Linked DNA regions of Homo sapiens: region 2 is linked to region 1. The links are contacts of gene promoters, found by promoter capture Hi-C in blood cells and fetal thymus (Javierre and others, 2016). All regions are on one chromosome and are shown on one strand. The core of a region is centred on a gene start or on the middle of the fragment in contact, and the rest is flanking DNA. Distances in the headings are between cores, read along the strand shown.

Region 1 (7,701 bases), core at 2,102-4,601:
CCTGGCTGGACCCCACCTGTCTGTTCTTCCTTTCTAGCCCCTCTGAGCAAAGCTGTGTCTTGCAAGCTGGGTAACCCCTCGCCCTGATCCAGTAAAGCCCACAGGATGCAGGGGACAGGGACGGGCCACAGCTTGGGTTGGGGAGATGCCCAGGCTGGCACATGGGAATCCTGGCCCACCCAACAACCATCATGACAGCAGCTCACATTCATTCCCACCAGCATCTGATCCAGAAAGGCTGCAGCCACCTTTGTTCACCCTAGCATCTCCATCTGGCAGGTGAGGAAACTGAGGCGCACGCAGGGAGGTGAAGCAAAAAGCCAGAAGGCAGGATGGGAGCCCAGAGGGGAGCCCAGCAGAGCCAAGGGGTCTTCCAAGTGCAGAGGGGCCAGGACCCAGAGCACAGCCTGGGCCTTCCATCTCTGGGCAGGCTGGAGTGTCCCCTCTGCCTGGCATTTGAAGCCCAAGGCCATCTGGATCCCCCAAACACACACCCTCCTGCTCCATGTGCCTTCAGTCTTGCCATCCTCTGCCAAGGGGGTCCTGACTCTCGGATCCCACCCACCCACTATAAAAGCAAGATCCAAGGCCCAGGCTCTCCAGAACCCCCTGCCCCAGCATCCTCAAACAACCCCAAAGGAGGTCAACTGCAGCACAGGACACACTCTGTCTCCCGGCAGAGCCCACACATGTCCCAAGGAATAACAACTGCAAGACAAGCCTGAGCCATGCCAGGTGAGCGGGGGCCTGCACCGCCCTTGGCCACTCCTCCCCAGCAGCCCAAGCTTGCAGGTGTTACTGACACTGTCCTGCCGGGTTTGCCAAGGCCCACAGAGATCCGTAACTGGGACCCAAGGAGCATGGGGGCAGAGCCGGGGGTGAACCCCACCCCGTCAGAGCCATTCAAATGGACAGTCCCTGCCCCAGCTACCAGAGAGGGGACGGGTATCCTCCTGTCCTGCTCTCCCTCCCAGGACCCCGGCTTGTCTGAGCCTGATCCCACTCCAGAGGCCACTCCATGTGCTCTAGGCCCGGGGGGCCCACAGACCGCAGTAGAGCAGGCTGGAGTCCCCTCCATCCTCCCAGACCAGCACTCACTTTTGCGGCCTGCTTCCGCCCAGCCAAGCAAGCTGCTCCTCTTGGCCTCAGTTTCTCAATGCGCAAAGCGGATACGAGTCCCTGACCTCATCTACCAGGTCGTGGGGAGGATGAGAAGTGGTAAGAAAAGTGAAAACAAAAGGGACATGAGGTCACCAGGTTTGCATGTCACCAGCCACACCTTCCTGTGTGCTACAGCAGGGACAAAGGGAGAACACTGAGCCCGAGGGATCCCCAAGCCCACCCCCAGGGCCAGAAGGGCACAGAGCCTGGCCCAGGCCCAGTGCCACAAACACCCCTTCCCCAGGGACACGCTGCCTCCTCCTAACTCAACCGGGCACATCATGAGCATTGCCGGGCTCACCACCAGCAAAACACCCCCGCCTTGCAGCCGCCACCTCCTGAGGCTCCTTGACAGACGCCAGGAGGGCTGCCCTGCTTACAGGGGACCAGCCATCCCTACGGGGCTTTCAGTACTGCCTCCCCCCATAAAGCCACCTGCCAAGGGTGCCAACAAACTCTTCAGCGAACCCCGGGTCACAAACCAGAAACGTTTCCTGCCCCAGGTTCTGACTGGGAAAACAGGGTTGTAGGGAGAAGAGGGCACTGCTGGACACAGCCAGGACGAGGCGGGACGTCCGTTCTGCCCTGGGCCTCCAGCAGCCAGTGGGACACAAGGACGCATCACACAAGGCCCCAGCCCTCCAGAAGCCAGGACCAAGAACGGCCGGATGCCAGTGGGACTGACACTGATGGGGCTGTGCCCAGCTCTCTGGCCAGTGTTATCTCATCCTCCACCCCCACCCATGACACCCCCATCCTCAGAAGAGGAAACTCGCTCCAGAATCCCCTAGGTTCCCCAGTGGCAAAAGAGGAAGCGGGAGCCCGCAGAGCTCTGAACCGGGACTGCCCCAAGGTCAGTCGGGGTCTTCCTCGGGCCAGGCCAGAGGCTCATGCCCCCACCCTGTGAATCACCCGCTGGTCATTTTCACAGGCTGCCCCAGGGTTGGCCTGTTTGGCCAAACAACTTTGCTTGTAGATGCCGGAGAAAGTTGGTGGCAATTATATGTGCCAGACACTGAGATAAACAGCTCACGCAGATGTCTCCTTTCTGCCTCAAGACAACAGGGCAGTTGAGCTATTACTGTTCCCTCTTGGCAGATACAGAAATTGGTGGCTCAGAGAAGTTAAGTCCATTGCCCAAGGTCACACAGCTCAAAAGTAGACGCGCAGGGATTCAAACCCAGGCAACCTGCATCCAAAATCCCGCATTTCGACCCTGACTCTAAAATGCCACATTCTCCCTACCTCCTCTCCCGCGTGCCTGAGGGGCCGCGGACAGGTGAACCCCAGTGTGGCCCTCGCTGGGGCGGGCTGGGCGACCTGGGCTGGGTGCTGGGGACTTAGGGGTGACAGCGCCCCGGCGGCTCCCGAGTGCTGAGCGCGGGCGGCGTGGCAGGCGCGGTGCCAGGCGCGCTCCGCGCACCCTCCCGTTCCACCCTGCCCGGCGGCGCCGGCGTCTCCCCCACTCCACGGAGGAGCAAAGCGAGGCTCCAGGGAGGAGGGGGCTCGGCCCAGGGGGCGACAGCTGGAGAGGGGACGGCAGCTGGGGAGGTAGCTCGAATCGGCCCGACGGAGGCGGGGTGTGGGACGGGGACCAGGGGAGCTAGGCATGCCCACGCCGCGCAGCCGCTGCCCACGGAACCGGGCGCCGAACGCTGCGGCCCGGCCTCAGTTTCCCTACCCGCGAGACGGGCGCCGGACGTCACCTGGACCCCTATCCCCGGAGCCCTCCCCGGAGCTCCCAGAATTTTGAAGAACCCCGAAATGCCGGGGGAAGGCGGGAGCGTAGCTGAGGACGGGCGGGGGCTGCACGGGCGGGGGCGAGCGCCCCGCGATCCCCACAAAGCGGCCTCCGCCCCCCGCCGCCTCCTTTGTCCGGATCTCGCCGCAGCGCCGCTGACAAAGAACCCCAGCCCGCGGGCGCGGCCCCTGGAACGGACCCTCCCCCGAGCCGCGCCCGCCGGGCCGCCCCTCCCCCGCCCGCAGACCCCGGCCCGGCCCCGCCGCCGCGCGCGCCCCTCCTCGTCCTGGCCTCCCCCTTCCCGCCCCCGGGCCCCGGCGCCCCCGCCCGGCCCGAGCGCGCGGCCTGCCCCGCCCGGCTCACCATGGCGCGGCAGCGGCCCGGCCCGATCGCCCCGCAGCAGCCCCGCGGGCCCGGCTCCGCCCGCCCGGTCCGGCCGCCGCGCACTCGGGACGCAGGAGCCCCGCGCTGCGGCGGGCGGGGCCCGGCTCCTCCCCGGCTGGGGACGGGGCCTCCCAGAAAGGCCAATGGGAGCCCGCGCTGGGACGGCGGGGCGGGGCGGGCCGGGGCGGAGTCACGTGTGCTCGGGGCCGGCAGGCGGTGGGGCGGGGGCTGCGCGCGGCGGGCGGGCTCGGCCCTGGCGAGCGCGGATTGGGCGCCCGTGGGTACGGGGCCCCACTACAGGCGCCCTTCCTCTGCCAGCCTCATCCTGACCCCGGCAGGCTGCCTTGGTCCCGCCTGCTTACAGCGGAGGAAACTGAGGCACGCTGCACGGAAGAGTGCTGCATACTCCTCGAGAGCTGAGAGCGGCGGGGAATCCGGGGCAGGGGCAGGGGAGAGGCGCGACCGCTGAGGTGAATGACCTTGCTTCGGGAGGAAGCTGGGCATCAGTCGTTCGCGAATTCATTTATGTATCATTCATCCGCCCAGTCAGTCGATGGCGGAACACTGACCACGTGCCTGCCACGCCAGTCGTCGTGGGAGCAGCCACGAGCCAGACAAGGTCCCGGCCCTGACGAAGCTCTCATTCCTCTGCGGGATGAGGCTGTGAGGCATTTGCACCCCTCTGCCACCTATAATCATAGTTATTTTTAGCATAATTACCCGGTGGTTTGGCCCCCACCAAATGCCTGCCCTGTATAAACAGCCCAACACATTTTATTAAGATGACTCCGGAAGAAAGAATCTTCCCATTTTACAGATGAGGAACCTGAGGCTCCAAAGAGCTGAAGTCCCACAGCCTGCTCCTGATGGAGAGAGGGTTTTGAGGCCAGGCCTGTCTACCTGGGAAGACAGAGGCTCCAGTTATTGGAGTAATCTCCACTCATCCACCCCAAGAAGGCCATCGGCGAGAGGACACCCCAGCCCTGGGGCCCACAGAAGGGGTGAGGGTGGGTCCCTCAAGGCTTCTGTGGCCCAGGGGACTTGAGAAGACAGGAGGGGGCAGGGCGAGCTGGGACCTCCTCCTGGGAACGGGGGCCTTATTTGCTGGAAACTTCTTTCCCATTCTCAAGCAGAAGCCTCTGGAAGAGCATGGCGGGTTGGGCTCACGAGGCTGAGGTGGCCAGGCCCTCACTCCCTCCACTCAGCCTCGCTGGGCTTTCTTCCCTGCGCCCAGTGCACCAAGCCTTTCCCACCGCCAGGCCTTTGCCTATGTGGCTCCCTGCAGCTGGAACTCTTCTACTTCATCTTCCCGATCTCAGCTTAAGTGCCCCTTCCTCAGGAGGGCCCTCCCTGATCGCCCAGCCAAGAGTAGCTCCCTTGGGGTTTTTTGTTTTGTTTTTGAGACGGGGTCTTGGTCTGTCACTCAGGCTGGAGTACAGTGGTGCAATCACAGCTCACTACAGCCTCCATCCAACTCCTTCCTGGGCTCAAGCCATCGTCCCACTCAGCCTATATCTATGAATGTGGGCAGATTTGACGAAGCAATTTTTTTTCTTTTTTTTAGAGAGAAGGTCTTGCTCTGTCGCCCAGGCTGGAGTACAGTGGTGCAATCATAGGTCACTGTAACCTGGGCTCAAGCGATCCTCCTACCTCAGCCTCCCAGGTAGCTGAGACTACAGGTGCATGCCACCATGCCCGGCTAATTTTTTAATTTTTTGTAGAGATAGGGTCTCTTGTTGTTGCCTGAGCTGGTCTCAAACTCCTGGGTGATCCTCCTGCCCCGGCCTCCCAAAGTGCTGGGATTATAGGCTTGAGCCACCATGCCCAGCCTACCCATTGTGAAATTGTACATTTTTGACATTGTGTGATGAACTTTTGGTCTTCTCTCCCAGGACTAGGTGTATTGCACTCACTGCTGTGTCTACAGAACAGTGCCTGCCACACAGTGGGTGCTGAATACATGGATGTTGAATGAATGAATGATCGGACTGCAGAACTCCAGGGCGGGTTCAGCGGCAGCCTAGTCAGGAAGCCAGGCACAGGAGGTGAGCTGGGAGTTGCGCAGGAAGGGAGGACAGAAAGGCAGAGGAGAGCCCAGCTTCAGCCAGCTGCCCCACAGGCCAAAGCCGGGCATCTCAGAACAGCTCCGCCCCCACATCTGCCCAAATCCTGCCCCATCAGCCACACCTAGGAGCCCAGAATGGAAGGAAATAGGTTCTTCCCACAAAGCCAGTTCCAGCAGCCTTTGTGGTCCCCGCCTCAAGTTGGCAGAGACTTCATTAGTGGTGAGGACCTGGGAGGGGCAGGCTAAGAACCCCAGAGCCAGGACTGGCAACACGATGACAGGGGAGGCAGGGACACTTAGAGGGGAAAGATTCTTGGGGGAAAATGGTGAGGGAGATTCAGCATGGCATAGAAGCTGGGAGTCAGATTGCCAGATTCCAGGCTTTCCTGCTGGGTGGTTTTGGAAAAACAGCCGAACGTTTCTGTGCCTCAGTTTTTTCGTCTGAGAAATGGAGATGAGGCCGGGTGCGGTGGCTCACACCTGTAATCTCAGCACTTTGGGGAATGCCAAGGCAGGGGGATGGCTTGAGCTCAGGAGTTTGAGAACAGCCCTGGAAATGTAGTGAGACTCCTATCTCTAAAAAAGAAAAGTTAGCTGGCCGTGGCGTTGTGCGCCTGTACTCCCGGGTACTGGGGAGGCTGAAGTAGGAGGATTGCTTGAGCCTGGGAGGTTGAGGCTGCAGTGAGCTGTGATCACACCGTTGCACTCCAGCTTGGGTGACAGTGAGCCCTGTCTCAAAATAAATAAAATAAAATAAAATATACAGCTTCTGACCCACTAGGTCTGAGCCCCAAATCCTGCATTTTTCAAAAGTTCCCGAGTGGTGCTGATGATTCAGGGACAGACTTTGAGCAGCAAGGGCGAGTTCACTTGCTGAAAGTCACAAGGTAGTGGGCTCCAAGCCTGCACTGGAGCCCATGAGATGGGCTACAGGATCCTGCGCTTAACTGCGACCCTAACTGCTTGCTGCAGCCCCACCTTTCTCTCCCCAACAAAGAGGAGGCAGGAAGTATCGCGCCCCTCCCCCAAGCCCATTTCCTCTACCTCCCTCCGTAGTGACATCTGGCCTCACGTCCCCGGGGTTCGTCCTTACAGAATGGGATGGAGGTTCTCAGATGCTCATTAGCCAGGAGGATAATTGAGGGCTTGGGATGAGCTCACCCCAGCTCCCTGGGGCTTGCTGGGGTCCAGCTGGTGTGCCCTGTACCAGCCTGGCCCTCTGCCCACTCCCCCAGCCGCTATAAGGGCTGGGACAAGGAAGGGGGTTGCTCGGCGGGGTGGAGAGGCCTCAGCCTCAAGGGAGACTCTACAGCTGGGACTCCCTGCTCGGGTGGGCGGGCCTCTGCTCCTGGGGCATCTCTATAAGGGATCCAGGCCTGAGAACAAAATGAAAACTGCGTGGCCAGAGGGGATTTTTCCTGAAGGGTGAGATGTGAACCACTGGTGAGGTCTGCAGGGTGAGGTTAGGTGGAAGGCAGAGAGGGCATCACTCACCTCTGAAACCCATAGCAGCTCCCCATTCTAGGGGCAAGGCCTCCTTTGCTGCTAGTGTGGCCTGAGCATCTCTGTAAGGCTGGCTCAGCCCCCTTATGTCCAGGAGAGAGCACAGACCTCAGGCTCAGAATCCCGGGCAGTTGACACTCTGCAGCTAGAACTGAATGATGTGTGGGTTTCTGTGTGTGTATGTTTTAGTTACCTTCTGTGTATGATGTGGGTATTGTGTTTCTGTGTATGGTAATGACATACCCATTGCTTTTTATTTCTTATTTTCTTTGTTTTTGAGGCAGGGTCTTGATTTTTTCACTCAGGCTGGAGTCCAGTGGCACAATCACTGCTTACTGCAGCCTTGACCTCCCCGGATTCTCCCACCTCAGCCTCCTAAGTAGCTAGGACCACAGGTTTGTGTGACCCCACTCAGCTTTTTGTTTTGTTTTGTTTTTGTTTGAGACAGGATCTCACTCTGTCACCCAGGCTGGAATGCAATGGCGTGATCTTGGCTCACTGCAACCTCTGCCATCTAGGCTCAAACAATCCTACCGTCTCAGCCTCCCGAGTAGCTGGGACTACAGATGTACCACCACACTGGGCTAATTTTATTATTATTATTTTCTCTTTCCTTCCTTCCTTCCTTTCTCTCTCTCTCTTTCTTTCTTTCTCGTTTCTTTCTTCTTTCTTTTCTTTCTTTCTTTCCTTTCATAGAGTCTTGCTCTTGTTACTCAGGCTAGAGTGCAATGGCGCAATCTCGCCTCACTGCAACCTCTGCGTCCCGGGTTCAAGCGATTCTCCTGCCTCAGCCTCCCAAGTAGGTGGGATTAGAGATGCCTGCCACCACGCCTAGCTAAATTTTTTT
Region 2 (7,701 bases), core at 784-3,283, 300 kb after region 1:
TAACTTTTTCCTTTGAGTTTTCAACTGAAAAATAAAGCTGGCAGAATCCAAGAACATGTCTCTAGATTGCTGGGGTTGATCATCCACTCAAGAGAGGGGGAGGCGTGGGCAGCTATGGAATCTGCTCACCGATAGGGGGTGCCCTCGAGCCCTCTCTGCACTGAGCCTGGTAGGAGCTTGTAGGGCCCAGATTCCAGAGCAAAGGGCAAGGCATCAGCCACGGGGACTGAGGCAAGCTGAAGGCCAGACTTGACCGTCCTTGACCTCCGCCCCACCATCCCCCCCATGAATCCCTGGTGCATAGCAGGTGCTAGATGAAGTTCAGAAGAAAGAACTCCAGGGTGAATGGGAACAAGAAGGTTGGTCCTCCACACCCCCACACTGGAGGGAAGACAGAAGGGAGAGTGGCTGTGATTTGAGTGCTTTGCTGTGGTTACAGCCTAAAGACCCTGGAGACCAGGCACTGCTCCAAGTGCCTTGAAAGATGTTTGATCTGGGGGCTGGGTGCAGTGGCTCACGCCTGTAATCCCAGCACTTTGGGAGGCCGAGGCGGGTGGATCATGAGGTCAGGAATTCAAGACCAGCCTGGCCAACACGGTGAAACCTCATCTCTACTGGAAAAAAAAAAAAAAAAAAAAAAAATCCGGGCATGGTGGCTGGCGCCTGTAATCCCAGCTACCCAGGAGGCTGAGGCAGAGAACTGCTTGAACCCAGGAGGCGGAGACTGCAGTGAGCCAAGATCACACCACTGCACTCCAGCCTGGCGACAGAGTGAGACTCCGTCTCAAAAAAAAAAAAAAAAAGTTTGGGTCGGGCACAGTGGGTCACGCCTGTAATCCCAGCACTTTGGGAGGCCAAGGTGGGTGGATCATGAGGTCAGCAAATCGAGACCATCTTGGCTAACACGGTGAAACCCCGTCTCTACTAAACATACAAAAAATTAGCCGAGTGAGGTGGCGGGCTCCTGTAGTCCCAGCTACTTGGGAGGTTGGGGCAGGAGAATGGCGTGAACACGGGAGGTGGAGCTTGCAGTGAGCGGAGATCGTGCCACTGCACTGTAGCCTGGGCGACAGAGCGAAGGCTCCATCTCAAAAAAAAAAAAAAAAAAAAAGTTTGATCTTAGGCCTTACAATAGTCCAATGAGGAACGGATGATCCCCACTTAATGAGAGAAGAAACAAAGGCTCAGAGAGTTGAGGGGATTTCCCCAAGGTCATACAAGCTACAAACAGCCAGGATGGCACTGACGCGGGCCTGCCTGCCTCCCAAGGCTGCCCAAGCTCACTCAACCCCCACTTCTGCTTTTGCAATAAAAGAAAAGCAAATCACTGGTGCTCAGGGGCCCATGAGCAATTCAGAGTCAGATGCAACTAGAGTGTGCAGCCACCTGACCTGTTGGTTTCTCAATATGCTTAACGGATCCATGATTTCTGGTCCAGAAAGGAAACGCAGAAGCTTTCCTTCCTGCCTCCCACATTCTATGGGTCAAGTATTTACCAAAAACACAGCAGTGGACTGGACACCAGCAGAGATACAAAGAGGGAAACATAGTTCTCCCTTCTCAAGGCAGGTTGGACAACATCAATACTTTCCAACTGGGGGGTGTGGGTGGAGTACTTATGCATGAATTTGAAACAGATAGGAGAGGGAATGATTCCAGCGGAAAGACCAATTCACGTCTACAATATACACTGAACTCCAGCCTGGACAACATAGCAAGACTCTGTCTCTAAAAAAATTTAATCATTAGCCAGGCATGGTGGCACATGCCTGTCTAGGAGGCTGAGGCAGGAGGATCACTTGAGCCCAGGAGTTCAAAATCACAATCAACTATGATCACACCACTGCACTCCAGCCTGGGCATCAGAGCAAGGCCCTATCTCCAAAACAAAACAAGGTAAGATGTTTACATACAAATCAAGGTAAGAAAATCCAAAATAAAATATTACCAAACAAACCCCACTGGGGCCTTAAAAAAAAAGTGACCTAAACCAAGTGAGAATTGTACAGTGTGACAAGGATAGCTCAAAATTAGAACATCTTTTAATTTCAAATATATATATATATATATATATATATATATATATACACACATATTTTTTTTTTTTTTTTTTTTTTCCTGAGATGGAGTCTCGCTCTATTGCCCAGGCTGGAGTGCAGTGGTGCGATCTAGGCTCACTGCAAGCTCCGCTTCCTGGGTTCACTCAGTTCTCCTGCCTCACCCTCCCGGGACTACAGGCGTCCGCCACCACACCTGACTAGCTTTTTTGTATTTTTAGAAGAGATGGGGTTTCACCATGTTAGCCAGGATGGTCTTGACCTCCTGACCTTGTGATCTGCCTGCCTCAGCCTCCCAAAGTGCTGGGATTACAGGTGTGAGCCACTGCGCCCAGCCTAATTTCATTCATATTAATATGTTAAAAATCATAATCATCGTAGATGTTGAAAAGGCATTTGACAAAATTTACTACAAAATTTAGAAAAAAACACATCAAATTAGAAAGAGGGATACTTCCTTAAATTACACACGATAAAGGAAATTACACCCAGACACACACCCATCAAGCCAGAGCCCAGCATCATTTATAGGGGATGGAAGCAACAGAAGCTTCCATTAACCTTCGCAACAAAAGAATGCCCTCTGTTACCACTATTATTTTGGAGGCCCTAGCTGATGAAACTAGGCAAGGAGGAAAGTAAGACATTTAAGAAAAAAGCAGGAGGTAAAATAATTTACTCTGAAAAATGAGGCAGACAGATTTTGCTAAGGAGTTAGGTACAAAAGTAACATAATAAGCAGCCTTCCTTTTTCTTAATTTTTAAAATATAGAGATGGGGCCGGGCACAGCTCACGCCTGTAATCCCAGCACTTTGGGAGGCCGAGAGAGGCGGATTGCTCGAGGCCAGGAGTTCGGTACCAGCCTGGCCAACATGGCAAAACTCCACCTCTACTAATAATACAAAAATTAGCTGGGTGTGATGGCACACACCTGTAATACCGGGTACTCAGAAGGCTGAGGCATGAGAATTGCTTGAACCCAGGACATGGAGGTTGCAGTGAACCGGGACTGCATTACTGCACTTAGCCTGGGTGACAAAGAAAGACCCTGTCTCAAAAAAAAAATAACATAAAGATGCGGTCTTACTATGATGCCCAGGCTGGTCTCAAACTCCTGGGCTCGAGCAGTCCTTCTGCCTCAGTCTCCCTAAGTGCTAGGATTATAGATGTGAGCCACCAAGGCTGGCCTCAGTCCTCCTATGTACAAACAAGCAGTTAGAAAAGTTAACAGAAGAAAACATCCCATTTGCAACAGCACACTCCCAAAAAACAAAATTCTCAGAAATAAATGTGCAAAAATATACACACACAATCCATATGAAGAAATCTTTCAAATGCTGCTGAGGGATATGAAACACTTTGAATGCAAAGAAGGCCATGCTGCATGTGTTATCGAGAAACGTTCAACATTAAAAAGATGTCACATCAATATCAAGAGGGGGTGTGTGGAAATGGAGGCTCCACACATGCTGGGGGGAACGTGGCGGCATGGCAACTCCAAAACACAGTTTGGCGGTTTCTTAAAAGGTGAATATAAATCTACCTTATGGGGCTGGACACAGTGGCTCACGCCTGTAATCCCAGCACTTTGGTAGGCCAAGGCAGGTGGATAACCTGAGGTCAGGAGTTCGAGACGAGCCTAGCCAACATGGTGAAACCCCATCTCTACTAAAAGTCCAAAAAAAATTAGCTGGGTGTCACAGGTAGTGGGCACCTGTAATCCCAGCTACTCGGGAGGCTGAGGCAGGAGAATCACTTGAACCCAGGAGGCAGAGGTTGCAGTGAGCCAAGATCGTGCCACTGCACTGCAGCCTGGGCGACAGAGCAAGACTCCATCTGAAACAAACAAAAATTAGCCAGGCATGGTCACACACACCTGTAATCCCAGCTACTCAAGAGGCTGAGCCAGGAGAATAGCTTGAACCTGGGAGGCAGAGGTTGCAGTGAGCCAAGATCATGCCACTGCACTCCAGCCTGGGCAACAGACGGAGACTGTCTCCTAGATAGATAGATAGACAGAGATAAAAAATAAAGTGTCAAAATCAGTGGCTTTTGGTATACTTACATAACGGTGCATCCATCACCACAATTCAATTGATTTTAGAACATTTTCATTTCCCCAACAAGGAACCCTGTTATCCTTAGTCATCCCCCCTCCCAGTTCTTCCTTCCTCCCCAGCACCAGGTGACCAGTAATCTGCTCCCTCTCTCTCTCTGGATTTTCTCATTCTGGACATTTCACATAAATGGAATCATACAATACGTGGCCCTTTGTGATTGGCTGCTTGGACTTGGCATAAAGTTCGAGGCTCACCCATGTGTGGACATTTCACATAAATGGAATCATACAATACGTGGCCCTTTGTGACTGGCTGCTTGGACTTGGCATAAAGTTCGAGGCTCACCCATGTGTGGCCCATGTCTGTGCTTCATTCCTTTTTACTGCCTTATTGCCCAAGTGGTGTCATAAGCACCGTAGGTGCACTGTGAAAAGTTAGGGTGTGTGTTGTAATCCCTAGAACAATCGCTAAAGAAAACATATATAGCTAAAAACATAGAGCAAAAAGATATAGCCAGAAGTCAACAGAGATAAAAGGAAATGTGAAGAATCACTCCATTAATCCAAAAGAAGGCAAGAAAGGAGGAACAAGAGACAAAGAGAAATAGGTGGGTGCGCTGGCTCCCTATGAAAAATACAAAAAAAAAAAAAAAAATTAGCTGGGCGCACTGGCGTGCACCTGTGATCCCAGCTACTCGGGAGGCTAAGGCAGGAGAATCGCTTGAACCCAGGGCGGGGGGAGGGGTGCGGAGGATGCAGTGAGCCACTGCACACAGATCATGCCACTGCACACTCCAGCCTGGGCAACAAAGCAAGACTGTGTCTAAAAGAAAAACAACAACAAAAAACACAAACAGCATACATTAGAAATTCCATTGGGCTGGGCACAGTGGCTCACGCCTGTAATCCCAGCACTCTGGGAGGCCGAGGCGGGCGGATCACGAGGTCAGGAGATAGAGAACATCCTGGCTAATACGGTGAAACCCCATCTACTAAAAAATACAAAAAATTAGCCAGGCATGCTGGCAGGCGCCTGTAGTCCTGGCTACTTGGGAAATTGAGGCAGGAGAATGGCGTGAGCCCGGGAGGCAGAGCTTGCAGTGAGCCGAGATTGCGCCACTGCACTCCAGCCTGGGCGACAGAGCGAGACTCCGTCTCTAAAAAAAAAAAAAAAAAAAAAAACAGAGAGAAGTTCCATTGAACGAAAGTAAGTGAAATAAACACTCCAAGTGAAAGTGAGATAGTGAGACTAAATTTAAAAAAACACAAACAAAAACATGACTCACCTACATAATGTGTAGAAGAGGCACACTGTACATAGAAAAGCAGGTAAGATGAAAACACAGGATGAAAAAAGATATCTATGTAAACATTAATTATAAAACTCTATTAACATCAGATAAACAGATAATATGTCGGCTTCCTACTTTTTTGATGGAACAATTAAAAATGCAGAAAATGGGGTTGGTACAGTGGCTCACCACTTTGGGAGGCCAAGGTGGGCAGATCACTTGAGCTCAGGAGCTTGAGACCATCCTGGACAACATAGTGAGACCTCATCTCTATCAATAACAACTGCCACCTGAGAAAATGGCATTTTTCATGAGGAACATCAAATACTGTGCTGTCCTTTCCCTAACTTCTGGTTAAGTCTTTCCTAAAACCAAGGCCCAGCTTTGGGACTCCTGCAGTTCCATTAGGTGTCAACAAGTCCCTTTTGCCAAAAATTAGGAAAAACAACCGAAAGTCCATCCACCAATGAGTGGATAAACCAAATGTGGTCTATCCATATGATGGAATATTATGTCATAAAAAGGAATCAGTCATAATAAGGGATGAAGTACTGATACAGGCCACAACATGAATGGATATTGAAAACACCATGCTGAGCCAGGCATGGTGGCTCACACCTGTAATCCCAGCACTTTGGAAGGCTGAGGCGGGTGGATCACTGCAGGCCAGGAGTTCAAGACCAGCCTGGCCAACATGGTGAAACCCCATTTCTACTAAAAATACAAAAATCAGCTGGGCATGGTGGCAGGTACTTGTAATCCTAGCTACTTGGGAGACTGAGGCAGAAGAATCACTTGAACCAGGGCGGCAGAGGTTGCAGTGAGCCGAGATCGTGCCTCTGCCCTCCAGCATGGGCGAAAGAGTGAGACTCTGTCTCAAAACAACAACAAAAATTTTAAAAACCCACCATGCTGAGTGCCAGAAGCCAGACACGAAATGCTACATATTGTATGATTACATTGGAAGGAAATGTCCAAAACAGACAAATTCATATAGACAGAAAGTACATTCATGATTGCAAGAGCTGAGGGGGATGGGAGGATTGTGGGATTGACTGTTAATGGGTATGGCATTTCTTTTAGGGTGATGAAGTGTTCTCGAATTAGTAGTGGTGATGGTTGTACCACTGTGTATACACTAAACACCAGAGAAAGGCCAGGCACGGTAGTTCATGCCTGTAATCCCAGCACTTTGGGAGGCCGAGGCAGGCAGATCACCTGAAGTCAGGAGTTCAAGACCAGCCTGCCCAACATGGTGAAACCTCATCTCTACAAAAAATACAAAACTTAGCCAGGCATGATGCCGGGTGCCTATAACCCCAGCTACTCGGGAGCCTGAGGCGGAAAAATGGCTTGAATCCAGGAGGCGCAGGTTGCAGTGAGCCGAGATCGTGCCACTGTACTCCAGTCTGGGTGACAGAGCGAGACTCCATCTCAAAAACAAACAAAAAACATCAGAGAATGGTACACTTTAAAGTGCTGCATTTTGTGGTATGTGAATTACTTATCAATTCCTTAAGACTAGTAGGAGAAGGAAGGCATTGCAAATGATATTTTGGTTTTGTAATTAAACAAGAGATTTCTCCCTCTCCCCCCAAAAAAGTTCTCTTTCAGTTTCTGCAAACTTCCTCCTTCCCTCCCCTACCCATCCACCCAGAGGAATTTTATCTGTTCCTGCCTAAACAGATTAGAGGGCTTTGTCTTTTGAGGCCTGGTAGGTAAATTAGAAAGGGGTCCCAAGTAAAGAGAGAGAGAGAGAGGCATCCCAGAGCCCTTTTCCATCTGAGCCTCCCACGGCCCATGACTCACTTTACCCAGTAACATGCTTCCCTTCCAGTTTACCATCTGGAAGAAGGAATAAACTTATTTTTCTTATTCACCAATAATTTATGTAAACCAAACATTGCAAACAAGGGTTTCCTTAGCAACCTCTATCTCATTCTCTTCAGATACCAATTGCTCTCCAGTAAAGGGAGTGTCCTGTTCCACACAACTTAAATTAACTTGGAAATCTCACTTAAAACAGAAAAGTTAAGGTCTTCTTAAGGTTTACCAGGGGCAATGCATTTGCAGGAATGCACGGGGCTGAAGGTCAAAGGCAAAGAAAACAAGGCACAAATTCTTTCACCCGGATTTGGTTTGTCCTTGTACACCCATGGTTGACAAGGTCACCTGGCAATGACAAATCTGCTTTTGAAGTTTTGTTTTTTTTTCTGGAGGCAGAGTCTTGTTCTGTCGCTGAGGCTGGAGTGCAGTGGCGCGATCTCGGCTCACTGCAATCTCTGTCTCGTG

Evidence for each region. Contacts are between HindIII fragments. The CHiCAGO score rates a contact against its expected background, and 5 or more counts as called.
Region 2: a fragment that was not itself captured here is called in contact with the fragment with the promoter of SNN in region 1 in 2 of 17 cell types (M0 macrophages and monocytes); the score reaches 5.9 in M0 macrophages.

The regions. Positions count from the first base shown.
Region 1 is chr16:11,664,105-11,671,805 of GRCh38, reverse strand. It overlaps SNN (stannin), which reads right to left and starts at 3,351. Exons shown (of 2, transcript NM_003498.6): 1 at 3,266-3,351. RefSeq lists an enhancer at 2,052-2,151 and a silencer at 3,259-3,678. The HindIII fragment of the contact is 10,329 bases long and covers 788-7,701 here.
Region 2 is chr16:11,364,365-11,372,065 of GRCh38, reverse strand. All of the region lies in intron 1 of LOC105371082 (a long non-coding RNA gene), which reads right to left. It overlaps LOC400499 (putative uncharacterized protein LOC400499), which reads left to right. Exons shown (of 67, transcript NM_001370704.1): 67 at 1-51. Among named protein-coding and RNA genes, the nearest start is that of RMI2, 23 kb to the right of the region's middle. RefSeq lists enhancers at 841-1,341, 1,527-1,586. The HindIII fragment of the contact is 1,153 bases long and covers 1,457-2,609 here.